Linked DNA regions of Homo sapiens: all the other regions are linked to region 1. The links are contacts of gene promoters, found by promoter capture Hi-C in blood cells and fetal thymus (Javierre and others, 2016). All regions are on one chromosome and are shown on one strand. Each heading gives the region's core, a stretch centred on a gene start or on the middle of the fragment in contact. The rest is flanking DNA. Distances are from core to core; before and after follow the strand shown. Region 1 holds the start of DLX2 (distal-less homeobox 2). Region 2 overlaps CYBRD1 (cytochrome b reductase 1). Region 3 has its middle 65 kb from the start of CYBRD1.

The links. The method cuts DNA at HindIII sites, captures the fragments that hold promoters and counts their contacts. A CHiCAGO score of 5 or more calls a contact.
Region 2: a contact is called between a fragment that was not itself captured here and the fragment with the promoter of DLX2 in region 1, in 1 of 17 cell types (megakaryocytes). The highest score is 5.1, in megakaryocytes.
Region 3: a fragment that was not itself captured here is called in contact with the fragment with the promoter of DLX2 in region 1 in 1 of 17 cell types (monocytes); the score reaches 5.9 in monocytes.

What each region holds. Positions count from the first base shown.
Region 1 is chr2:172,100,876-172,105,068 of GRCh38, reverse strand. It overlaps DLX2 (distal-less homeobox 2), which reads left to right and starts at 2,169. Exons shown (of 3, transcript NM_004405.4): 1 at 2,169-2,930; 2 at 3,423-3,607; 3 at 4,125-4,193. The coding sequence starts at 2,531. It overlaps DLX2-DT (DLX2 divergent transcript), which reads right to left and starts at 2,063. Exons shown (of 5, transcript NR_126376.1): 1 at 1,801-2,063; 2 at 1,037-1,131. RefSeq lists a silencer at 2,168-2,367. The HindIII fragment of the contact is 7,057 bases long and covers 1-3,753 here.
Region 2 is chr2:171,556,376-171,560,568 of GRCh38, reverse strand. CYBRD1 (cytochrome b reductase 1) reads right to left here. Exons shown (of 4, transcript NM_024843.4): 4 at 2,440-4,193. Among named protein-coding and RNA genes, the nearest start is that of CYBRD1, 36 kb to the right of the region's middle. The HindIII fragment of the contact is 1,481 bases long and covers 1,262-2,742 here.
Region 3 is chr2:171,585,402-171,589,594 of GRCh38, reverse strand. It overlaps the pseudogene RPL21P38. Among named protein-coding and RNA genes, the nearest start is that of CYBRD1, 65 kb to the right of the region's middle. The HindIII fragment of the contact is 2,544 bases long and covers 1,049-3,592 here.

The DNA of each region.
Region 1 (4,193 bases), core at 920-3,419:
GCTCCCACCAGCAAACCTGGCTAATTTTTGTATTTTTAATAGAGATGGGGTTTCATTATGTTGGCCAGGCTGGTCTCGAACTCCTGACCTCAGGTGATTTGCCCGCCTTGGCCTCCCAAAGTGCTGGGATTACAGGTGTGAGCCACCGTGCCCAGCAGGCGGTTGGATTTTTAAAATTGTCTTTTTCAGGGAATTTTTTTTCTACATTAGATCAAAGCAGCTACCACTGTGGTGACAGAAAGAGTTGGAATTTGAAGTCAAAACACCAAAAGGCGGGCAGATCACGAGGTCAGGAATTCGAGACCAGCCTGACCAACATGGTGAAACCCCATCTCTACTAAAAATACGAAAATTAGCCGGGAGTGGTGGCGCGCGCCTGTAATCCCAGCTACTTACGAGGCTGAGGCAGGAGAATCGCTTGAACCCAGGAGGTGGAGGTTGCAGTGAGCCAAGATGGCGCCACTGCACTCCAGCCTGGGTGACAGAGTGAGACTCCGTCTCAAAAAAACAAAAACAAACAAAAAAACACCAAAAGGCAATCATGTTTCAATATCAAGAGGTTGGTTTTGCAGCTGAGGCCCACAAAGTAGGCAGAGAACCGCATAAAGCAATGCAGGTGGGTGGAGGTGAGCTCCACCTCCAACGTTTCTCATAAGCTGGCGCTTTCCATCTAGGGGCCTTCCTTAACCAAAAAAAAGCTGGGAACTAAATCCAGGTAGACTTAAAGGCGCATTACCTATCTCATTATTTCTCTGTGTGAATGCTGGAGTTTTAATTACACACTTGCTTTTTATGGGGAAGAAGACCAAAGATCATATTTTTGAAGGTATCAACTTGTTTTCTATCAGACAGTTGTTTTAACAAGTTCTTTCAGCGACATGTTATGTCTTTAGGAAAGGGTGCTTCAGATGGTGCGCACTAGCACAATTTTGTGGCTTTTAATTACTATTTTGTTCTTTTGGGGGGTTTCAGAGGCTGGCGCCTGGGCGTGATTAGACCGTCTACCCCGCCCCCCGCAACCTCGCACACTGCCCACCAGGTGGCGCCACAAAGCAAGCGCTGCCGCAGGAACTTCGGACTTGGGAGTCCAGCAAGTCGTGCAGTCCATCACCGTCGGGCCAAGGTTTCCAACTACAAGGTTATAGAGACAGAGGAAGTCACCATTTCCGATTTTTTAAAAAACAGAGGGAAAAGAAAAAAATTGCAATGATAGGGTAGAACAGGGTCCTAAAATGCAAAACTGTAAAACAGGATTAAATTCAACAAACCAGATAAAACTTTTTATATTTGTTGTAAATTTACAGAGAAGTGATAAATCTAGTATCTACTTGATAAATCTATAATCTCACCTATTATCCTATTTCCTTTTTCGCAAGAGCATCGAATTTTCAAGGACAACTGGTGAACCTTTCCACCCGAAGGAGGAAGTCCTCGGGATGGCTTTCAGGGTGTCATTTACTTATCAAACGTATATAATTACTCAGAGTCTCGCGTGTCGGGAAAGTACCAGGGAAAGTGGTTTCAAATATACTATTAGCAATAATACCTTTAAGTTTATGTAGCTTCTCTTTGAAGCAACAAGGAAAACCCGTTTCAATATTATATGATTAATTGTCCTAATATCCCTGCGGATTGGTTAAGAAGCGAGCATTACACGTGGTTTGTGGATAATTAAATCAATTGATTATGTCAAGTGCCGAGTGGCTAACAAGAATAAATGCCAGACACTTCGAGGAAAAGTGAAGATAGAGCTGGCTGGACTCTGGGCACCGATGTACTTTAATGTGTTTGAAAACTGACCTCGGACATGAAAGTACGAATCACTGGAACTGGCACTTGCTCACAGAATGGGAGAGGGGACCCCACTTCTTCCTCTGAGGCAAAACGCCAGTCTGTCTCCACGCCTTCTGTCTTCCTGCTGCGGGCCACCCTGACTCCTCGCTACCTCGACCCCTCGCCTCGCTGCTCACATTCGGCGGCAGTCTGTTTGCACCTGGGGCCGCTGCAGCCGCAGCCGCAGCCACAGCGCCCACCATGTGACGCCCGCCCCTTGGCCGGGCGTTCCCGGAGCTCCGCGGCCGTTTGCTTCTGATTGGCTGTTGCTAGGTGACGTCGCCAGCGCTCACGTGACGAGTGTTAAATGCCCACACTTCAGGAGCCCGCCTGGCAGACAATCGTAAAGCCGCTCGGGGCCGCTCACCTGCTCCCGCCTCCCAGAGCCCCGACCCGGCCCAGCCACCCCTGCCCCCTCCACTGCCCGCCCCCCGCCAGAGCCCGCGCTCGCGCTGGGCAAGGAGCCGAGCGGGCCCAGAGGCCGAAAGAGGATGCGACCAGAGGCAGCTGTCCCGAGCAGCGCACGGTGATCGCCTCCCCCGGAGGAGGAGGCGCCTAGACGGTTGCCTCCTTTCTTGTTTCCCCACCACCACCCCCGTAATTACATTGGCTGCTGGAGGGGACCGGGAGAGACAGAGGAGGCGCCTGGCTTCCCCCGCACGCCCGCCACCTCTGCTCTTTCCCGTCTCGGGCCAGGATGACTGGAGTCTTTGACAGTCTAGTGGCTGATATGCACTCGACCCAGATCGCCGCCTCCAGCACGTACCACCAGCACCAGCAGCCCCCGAGCGGCGGCGGCGCCGGCCCGGGTGGCAACAGCAGCAGCAGCAGCAGCCTCCACAAGCCCCAGGAGTCGCCCACCCTTCCGGTGTCCACCGCCACCGACAGCAGCTACTACACCAACCAGCAGCACCCGGCGGGCGGCGGCGGCGGCGGGGGCTCGCCCTACGCGCACATGGGTTCCTACCAGTACCAAGCCAGCGGCCTCAACAACGTCCCTTACTCCGCCAAGAGCAGCTATGACCTGGGCTACACCGCCGCCTACACCTCCTACGCTCCCTATGGAACCAGTTCGTCCCCAGCCAACAACGAGCCTGGTATGCATAACGCTGAAGTCAAGAGTGCCGAGTCGGTCTAGTTAATGGGATGGATGGGTAAACGTGTTTGGGGCGGGGGGCCTTCGAAAGCTCTGGATTTTCACGCTGCCTGCTCACCGCCCGCTTGTGCCCTTTACCCTCCCCAGCCTCCAATCTGCCGCAGGTCGCCGGTTACGTCCCTCTCTCCTTTGGTAGGACCTGGTGGCCTCAAGAGCCAAGTGGGCGTGCTCTGCCTGCCTCATAAGGGCATCTCCTTGCCACCAGCTTCTTTCTCTTGGGTGTGCACTTGTCTCCCCCTTCCCTGGAGGGTACAGCTCCCGGGGTCGGTGGCGGCTCCGATCGCACGCTGCGAAGTTGCGCCTGCCCGTGGCGCCACAGTTCAGTGCACCCACCTCTTTGCTCAAGCCAAGTCCCCCCCGCCGGGCCCTCTAGGAGGGCGGGAACTCCAGGACCCCTGGGTTGCGCTGTTCTTACGATTCTTTATCGTTGCAGAGAAGGAGGACCTTGAGCCTGAAATTCGGATAGTGAACGGGAAGCCAAAGAAAGTCCGGAAACCCCGCACCATCTACTCCAGTTTCCAGCTGGCGGCTCTTCAGCGGCGTTTCCAAAAGACTCAATACTTGGCCTTGCCGGAGCGAGCCGAGCTGGCGGCCTCTCTGGGCCTCACCCAGACTCAGGTGGGGCTCGCGCCCTGCAGGGGCGAGGAGAGCGCGGGCCTGAGATGGCTGGGAAGCAGGCGGGTTTAGGACAATGCTTTTTAAAGTTCATTTTAAGTACTTTTAAGGATTTCCAGGCCTGCGCCTCGAGCGGCCCTAAGTAAGCTTCTAGGCCCAAAGCTGGAAACCCCCAAGGGGCCGCCGTGGGAGGGAAGGAAAGGGACCGGGTGGACAGAAATCCCGTACCTCTCGCTACTGATTAAGCGGGTGAAATAACTGGCCCTCCTCACCCTCCCGCTGTCACCATCATCACAGTGCACGTACACCAGCAGTCCTGGCCTTTTGGCAATTACCTCCCCAGGGAGCAGGAACCGGCAGAGCCTCGAAGGCCGCCGCCCGTGATCCTCTTATCTCCCCAGGGCGCTCGCTGCCCACCGCTAGCCAGCGGTTTTTCTCTGCCTTCTTTTTTCTCCTCTTCGAACCCCTACTGCCCCAAGACTAGGTTCCTCCACTAATGCTCAGGTCTTTTTCCTCAAAGGTCAAAATCTGGTTCCAGAACCGCCGGTCCAAGTTCAAGAAGATGTGGAAAAGTGGTGAGATCCCCTCG
Region 2 (4,193 bases), core at 753-3,252, 540 kb after region 1:
CAGAAGCAGTCCATGACTAAGATCTACCGTGGACCCCTGGACCGGCCTGCTAGCCCATGCTCTGATGTTAATGACATCGAAGGCACGCCTCCCGAGGAAATCTCAATTGCACGACCCCTACTACGTCCCAATTCAGCAGGAAGCAGTTAGAGCGGTCTTTGGCCAACCTCCCCAACAGCACTTGGGTTTTCCTGTTGAGAGGTGGTACTAAGAGATAGGACTAGCTGGATTTCCTAGGCTGACTAAGAATCCCTAAGCCTAGCTGGGAAGGTGACTGCATCCACCTTTAAGCACGGGGCTTGCAACTTAGCTCACACCAGACCAGTCAGGTAGTAAAGAGAGCTCACTAAAATGCTAATTAGGCTAAAACAGGAGGTAAAGAAATAGCCAATCATCTATCACGTGAGAGCACAGGGGAAGGGACAATGATTGGGACATAAACCCAGGCATTCGAGCCGGCAACGGCAACCCCCTTTGGGTCCCCTCCCATTTTATGGAAGCTCTGTTTTCACTCTATTAAATCTTGCAACTGAAAAAAAAAAAAAGATGGGCTAGAGGCAGGAACCAAGTTCTTTGAATGCTGTGAGGAGAAACATTCCACCCAGACTGAGGCGTGGTGGGAGCAGGGGCAAAGGAGATGAAGCAGGAGCTGAAAAGCTCTAAAATCTGAGTTTTAGAGGAGATGCTGAATTCAGCAAGGTGTAGAAAGTTGGGTAGGATATTTGAGTATGTTTTACCAGATCCTCATGACCTTATTGTAGCTATTACAGGGCAGAAATTTGTCTTAAACCTAGCAGAGAACCACTACGTAGAATAATTTGCTATTCCATAAATATTCCTTTCTGTTGACTCCCAAATTTTTTTTTATTTTTTTATTTTTATTTTTATTTTTTGAGACAGAGTCTTGCTCTGTCACTTAGGCTGGAGTGCAGTAGCATGATCATGGCTCACTGCAGCCTTGACTTCCTGGACTTAAGTGATCCTCCCACCCTAGCCTCCTGAGTAGCTGGAACTACAGGCACATGCCACCACACCTAGATAACTTCTTAATTTTGTTTTTTTAGAGATGCGGTTTCACTTTGTTGCCCAGGCTGGTCTTAAACTCCTGGGCTTAAGTGATCTTCACACCTCAGCCTCCCAAAGTGCTAGGATTACAGGCATGAGACATTGCACCCGGCCAACTCCAAATTTTTAGACAGAGCTCTATTCCTTTAACCAATTGCATATTAAAGAGTCTCTGAATCCACCTATAAACTAAGCTTCTGTTTCAAGTTATCCCACCTTTTTGGGGCAAACCACTGCATACCTTCCATGCATTGATTTATGCCTTTCCCTATAACTCCTGCTTCCCTAAAATATCTAAAAGCAAACTGTAATTCCGACTGCTGGGGCACACTTTCTCAGGACCTCTTGAGACTGTGTTCCCCAGGTCATTGACACTTGTATTGGCTCAGAATAAACCTCTTTAAAATATTTTACAGGCTACTCTCTGCCTAGGGGGTAGCACTGCTCTACAGGAGCAGTCATGGTGCTGTAACACTGCCTCTTCAGTAAAGCTGTTTTCTTCCACCTCTGGCTTGCTCTTGAATTCTTTCCTGGGCAAAGCCAAAAACCTACATGGGCTAAGCTCCACGTTGGGGCTCCCCTGACCTGCATCAGTTTCTCTAATCTCTTACTGCTCAGGAGTCAAGTGGCCAGAGGTCACAAAATTTGTGACTTCCCCAGTTGCTCCTATAGATAACATCACTATTGTAGAACCTAAGATTGGTCAGGTAGTGAAGAGCTGACCCCATCTGGACTTGTGACTCATGACTTAATTGGTCCTGTGGCCCTCCTCCAGAGGGGGACTCAGTGCATGAGGATTGTTTTCTACACACCTATGATTGCATTCCCAACCAATCAGCAGCATCCATTCCCTTGCCCCTGCCCACCAAACTATCATTGAAAAACCCTAACCTCTGAGCCCTCAGGAAGACTGATTTGAGTGATAACTCCAGTCCTTCTGCTTGGCTGCTTTGCATTAATTAAACTCTTTACTGCGAAAAATTTTATATATATAAAATATTAAATATTATATATAAATATATAATAATAGTAAATATTATATATAAATATATAATATTAATAGTAAATATTATATATAAATATATGATATTAATAGTAAATATTATATATAAATATATGATATTTATAGTAAATATTATATATAAATATATGATATTTATAGTAAATATTATATATAAATATATAATATTAATAGTAAATATTATAAAATATGTATTATACATTACAGAGTCTGGCTTTTCAGTTAACATAATCAAGAAACTGAAAAAAGACTATCTCTGCTGAAAAATAAACAAACCAAAAACCATGGCAAAGAAACTTTCACAACAATGCCTACCCCTGCTACCCCAGACAAATTGATAACACACAAAGAGCTTCCAAAATAACTTTTATTACTATATAAAAGAAGTCAAGAAAAAATAGATGCATATTTTTCCTACAAAATTATAAAATATTCAGGATAGTTAATATTTTTTCCATAAATGCGCTAAGATAAAAAGATAGAAATCTTTTTCACTTAAGGTTTTCGAGTACCTTGTAGGAATTAAAGAACAATAATGTTCTTTCTTCTACATTTTCCTAAAGACATAGCAGTTACAGTTTCCTGCTGGAGTTATCTAAAAAAGGACATACCAAGATAAATTTTCTATCATATTGAAATAAAATTAGCATAAAGCTTTACTTCTGTCTTTGTGCTTTTAGATTGGCAACTGTGGTCAATCAGTGCTGCACTGGAATTTCCAACTCAGCAGGGGAAAGAATCTAATTAAAAATGACACACACTCTGTATTTTGTCCTTTAGAAAACAGAAACTGCTTGTCGATATCCCTTAAAAAGTGCAATTGCCTTCTTTGTCATTTCTTTGTAAAGTCTGAGATGTTGTTTCTAAACAGCACAGCTTACATGAAACCACGCAAGTAAAGGAAAGAAAGTGCTTTAGAGGGCAGGTTCCATTTGACACAAGCAGCACAGGAAGCCGTACACTTTTGATGACAGTAATTCAAAAAGTATATTCATTTGAGTTTCTCAATAAACGCTTTGAGAGAAAAGGCTTTAATGTTGATTCAGATGAGTGTTAAAATAAAGCTTTCTTTTCTGAAATTAGATTATGGGGTAAACCAAGCCAGATTATCTCTGGAGATGACAGAAGCCATAATTATTTTGGGAAATTTCAATCACTGTTTTGGAATTGATACCTAAGGCTTTCTTCTCCCCTATTATTTATGGGCTTTTTAATGAGATATTTTTCTCGGGAGATGCTTAGGTAGGAAATATCAGCTTTTGAAAGATAAAGGTACAATTATCATTAGAATCAAAAGCCCATTAAATAAGAGTCTCAAACAAAGGTTTTCTAGATATATTTTATATACGTTGTTTTCATAAAGATAGAAAAGAAATTCCTATAATATCTGTAAGATTATCCTCACATTAGCCCACATGAAAGATAAAATAAAGGGCTGAGATGGGGGGTGCTTAAATACTTTGCAACAGTGCTATTCTAGTGCCAAAGCCATAATTAACTTTTCACTGATAACCTGTTTCTTAGCCTATACAAAAAGGAATGGCCACCTCAATTCTGGCGGCTTAGTCACTATCTAATCCCTTCCTCCAAAAACCCTGGAATTTTGTGTTCCTCTATGTAATGGAACATCCAACTTATCAAATGATGTGTGACTATGCAACTACTCCTTCTATGGCACCAAGACTGTACCATGCTCCACCCATACTGAATTTAATTGTGCTACCACTTTGTGCCAGGCAGAGGGCTGGGTACTGGGGATCCTTCTGGCTCTATTACCAATTTTGGAAATAGAATTTAGTAGAGAAGAAGAGAACAGTGTTGCAGCAAGGGGATCTTGAATGGTTTTTCATGAAGTTTAAGGGATATGATGGAGTGTGGCTTGTATTCAGTCTTTGGAAGTAAGTACCAGTTACCTAAAAAGAAATCCACTAAGCACCAAAATGTTTAGTGTATTTGGTGTAGAGTTTCTACCCATATTAAAATGCTTCAGTTTAAAATTGAAGGGAAGGCAAAAAAATCAACCAAAAAATGAAAAGTATCATTTCAGCATAAGCACTACTCTAGGTTTTAATTTGTCAGCCCAGATCCCAGACAGAGATGATACTCC
Region 3 (4,193 bases), core at 1,071-3,570, 520 kb after region 1:
TCTAAAATTGACTTTTGTGTATAGTGTAAAGTTGGAGTCAGTTTAGCTTTTCCCTTATATGGCTAATCAATTAATTTTTATTAAATAGTCCTCCCTCCCCCTAATGTGCAATGCCAGTTTTGTCATAGGTGAGGTTTCTGTTTATTCATCTATTCACAAGTCTTATTCTAGATTCTGTTTTGGTCCATGGATCTATCTCTGAACTTATATCACAGTCTTAATTATGATGATTTTATATCAATTCTTAATACCTGGTAGTAGTGTAATTACTGACACTTGTTCTTCTTCAGGATTATTTTGGCTATCTTTGGCCCTTTGCTTTGCTATATAAAATATATAAATTTTAGGGTCAGCTTGTCAAGTTCTGTGAATAGAAAGTCATTAAATCTACAGCTTATTTTAGGGAAATACTATTTGTATCTTCTTTTTGTCTTTTACTGAAGTTTTTATTATTTTTTTCTGTAAAAGCCTTCACATTTTTGTTAGATTTACTCCAAAGGTGTCTTTTTTTTAATTGCCGTTGTAATTGGCATCTTTAATTGTGTGTTCTAAATATTTGTTGCTGAAGTATACATGTGTAATTGTATTTTGTATATTGACCTTACTTAAGGCAGACTTGCTAAGCTCCTATGAAGTCTAATGGCTTTTTGATGGAGTTTTTGAGTTTCCTAGCAAGATATTCACAAGTAGGAATAGTTTGTTTCTTTCAGGTCCTCATACCTTTTATTCCTCTTTCCCATTTTAAGGGCAAGCTAGATCACCTAGTACAATGTTACAGAAGTGGTGAGAACAGTCATCTTTACCGTGTTCTTAGTTTTAAAGAAAATGCTTTTTAAGGTCTCACCATTAAGTGTGATATGTGCTGTTAGATTTTTGCAACTTCCCTTTATCATGTTAGATAGTTTCCTTTTAGCCTTCATTTACTAAGAATTTTTAAAATCATTGATGACTAGATTTAATCAATTGCTGTTTTTTGTATCTATTGAGCTAATAATATTTTTTCATTAATCTGATAATGTGGTAAATTACTCTAATGTGAAATTAAGCTTTTATTGTAGGAATAAACTATCTTGGTCACAATAGATTAACTTCTTTATACATTGCTGATTTGATTTGCTAAATTTTTAAAAGGATTTTCAAATAAATTACACTGGCTTGAACGTTTCTTTTCCAGGTCTTTATCTGGTTTTAGTATCAAAATTACACTAGCCTTATATAATGAGTTGGATGCTCATCTCTCTTTTTCTATTCTCTGCAAGACTTCACATATGATTGCACTGATCTCTTGAATGTTTGGTTGTGCTTACCTTTTGAACTAACTAGGCCTGGTGTTTTCTCTGTTGGAAAAATTATAGCTAGTAATTAAATATATTTAGTGATAATAGCAGAGCTGTCTTTTTTTATAAATTATTTTATTTCTTCCAAAATTCTTTTTTTTTTTTTTTTTTTTTTTTTTTTTGAGATAGAGTTTTGCTCTGTCACCTAGGCTGGAGTCCAGTGGTGTGATCTCAGCTCACTGCAACTTCCACCTCTCGGGTTCAAGCAATTCTCATGCCTCAGCCTCACAGTAGCTGAGATTACACGCATGTGCCACCACGCCCAGCTAATTTTTATATTTTTAGTAGAGACAGGGCTTTGCCATGCTGGCCAGGCTGGTCTCAAACTCCTGGCCTCAAGTGATCCGCCCTCCTGGGCTTCCCAAAGAGCTGGGATTTCAGGTGCGACCCACTACGCCCAGCCCCATGATGATTTAGAGGGACTATCTTCAAACCAGTACAAACAGTTCATAAATAACATCTGCCCGTTTTCTAACCAATTGAGTAATTTGTTGCACAATAAGCTACCTCACATCTTTCAGCAAGAAAAACTTTAAATTAGAATAGTAAAGATATTACACAATGAATTAGGACACAATTAAAATTTGCTTTAAATGTATCTTTGTGGGAGATGACACCACACTTCTACTCAATGAAGAGAAACATTTTTACAGTCCAGAGGTCTTTGATATTTTAAACATCTATTAAGCCATGAATTCATAGGGAATAGGTTCCAGCAGCTCAGGCTTCTTCCCGCTGGTTCTCACAAAGTGTGTTTCTCTGGGTGGAGCAGGCTGGCACTTCAGCTGAACCCGGGTAGCTTTCTCTTTGGCTTCCTTCTTTTTCTGATCATTTTCCTTCATGTGTTTCAGGAAACTATCAGGGATCTTAGAATGTTTAACATGCTCAATATGCACATTAATTTTCTTGGCAAGAATCTTGCCCTTAGCTTGTTTGTTTATAACAATGCCAACAGCACGCTGGGGAACACTGTAGACTCTCCCAGTTTTGCCATGGTTAACATTTGTGGGGCATTCCTTTTTGAACAGTATCCATTTTCTTGATGTCTACAATATCACCTTTCTCATAGATTCACATATACGTGGCCAAAGGAAAAACCCCATGTTTTCTAAAAGGCCTAGAGAACATATATCTGGTGCCTCTCCTCTTTTCCCGTGTTCATCATTTTGGCGAATTACTGGAAGACGGAGGTTCCAGCCAAAAGGCAATAGCAGAGCTTTCTATCTGGTGTGTTCTGAGTGGGCCTCAGAGATTTTAAACACTCAGCCCTGAAGAGGCCAAGTCAGATGGGTGAGAAGTGGATGTGGGGCTGCTGGAGGCCCTGGCCAAGTTGCCTCTGGTCATAAGCATTCTGATCTCTCTTTTTTGTTGTTTTTGAGTATGATCTCACTCTGTCACCCAGGCTAGAGTAAACAGTGGTGCCAATGTGGCTTACTGCAGCCTCAACCTTCCATGCTCAAGCGATCCTCCCACCTCGGCCTCCCAAAGTGCTGGGATTACTGGCATGCATCACCATGCCCAGCCCTATTTCCATGTCTTTACCCTACTGTGCCATTGAGGTATTTTGCCATTGAGGTACTGGGGAGACAAAATAACCTCCAGTCAAGAATCACTACTCCAGGGCCTGAAATCCTGTCTTTAAACTTCTGCCTGATGCCCAGAGTCCTGGTATCTGCTGACAAAACCTCCTAATACCAAACACAAGGCAATTTCTCCAAATATAGCTTATTCCTGGCGTTCCCATGGCCATGCCCCGCTGTCTTGGGAAGATGCTGCTGTAATTCTCACAGCCTCTTTCTCATGCCAACAGCTTGGCTGGACTGTCGATTGCTCTTTAGGGAGATACCATTTTCTCTGACTTGAGCAAGTGACCCTTTATCCCCCATAAGAAGATTTCCTATGGGGATGGGGTGGGGCTGGTTTCGGTCTTTGGATCTGTCCTGTTGAGATCCAGTTAGTTCTTCCAAGAGTGGCTGTGTCATGAGACATCACAGCGAGAATGTGTTTGTTTTCCTTGAGAAAGTAATCTTTCCAGTGGTTTTATGTGAGAGAGCCTGTCCTTTTCCTATGGAAGAAGACATGGAGTTTTCTGAAGGGGATAAATTGCCCCATTTGACTGTGTAACAAGTCAGTTGGGAATGAGCAGCAGAACCACAGAATTGCAGCCTTAATAGATGCCAGCAGTACAAAGGTGGTGGTGAGCTTAATAAGAGCCTTAGAGAGAGGGGGAGAGAGTGACTGATTGACTGAAAGCTTAGAGCAGAGAACAGAAGGAGGGAAAAAACATTGTGTAATGCTTTTCATAGAGAAAATAGTCTAAGAACCACAGGGTGGGGAGCAAGAGAAAAAGTGTAGAACAAATTGTACCTTGCACTATCCTAAACTTGGCCTAGTTAATTACAGTGGGATAGGCGGTGCCAAGAGGGCCCAGAGCCTGAGACAGATATGACATTGGGTGGAAATCCACTCAAGCATGTAAGAAATGGTATCCATGGCTTTAACATGTGAGAAGATTATTCCTCTCATGGGAAAACATGGCGGCTTTCTTTTGCTAGGTAGTCAAGGGCTTAGGTTTCTTCTCTCTTGTTCTGTGATGTGTTGGATGCTGCCTTTATCTTCATGAACAAGATGACCCACTCCCACTCCCATATTCCTGCTGGCAGAAAAAGCGAAAGAAGAGAATCATATCCCTTCATCTTAAAGGCATAACCCAGAAGTTATACACATTATTTTGACTTGCATTCCATTGGCCAAAACCTAGTCATCTGGCTAATATGGTCACACCTAGCTGCAAAGGAAGCTGGAGATTCTGGGAGGCCATGTGCTCAGATAAAAGCAGGGGTTTTCTCTGAGAAA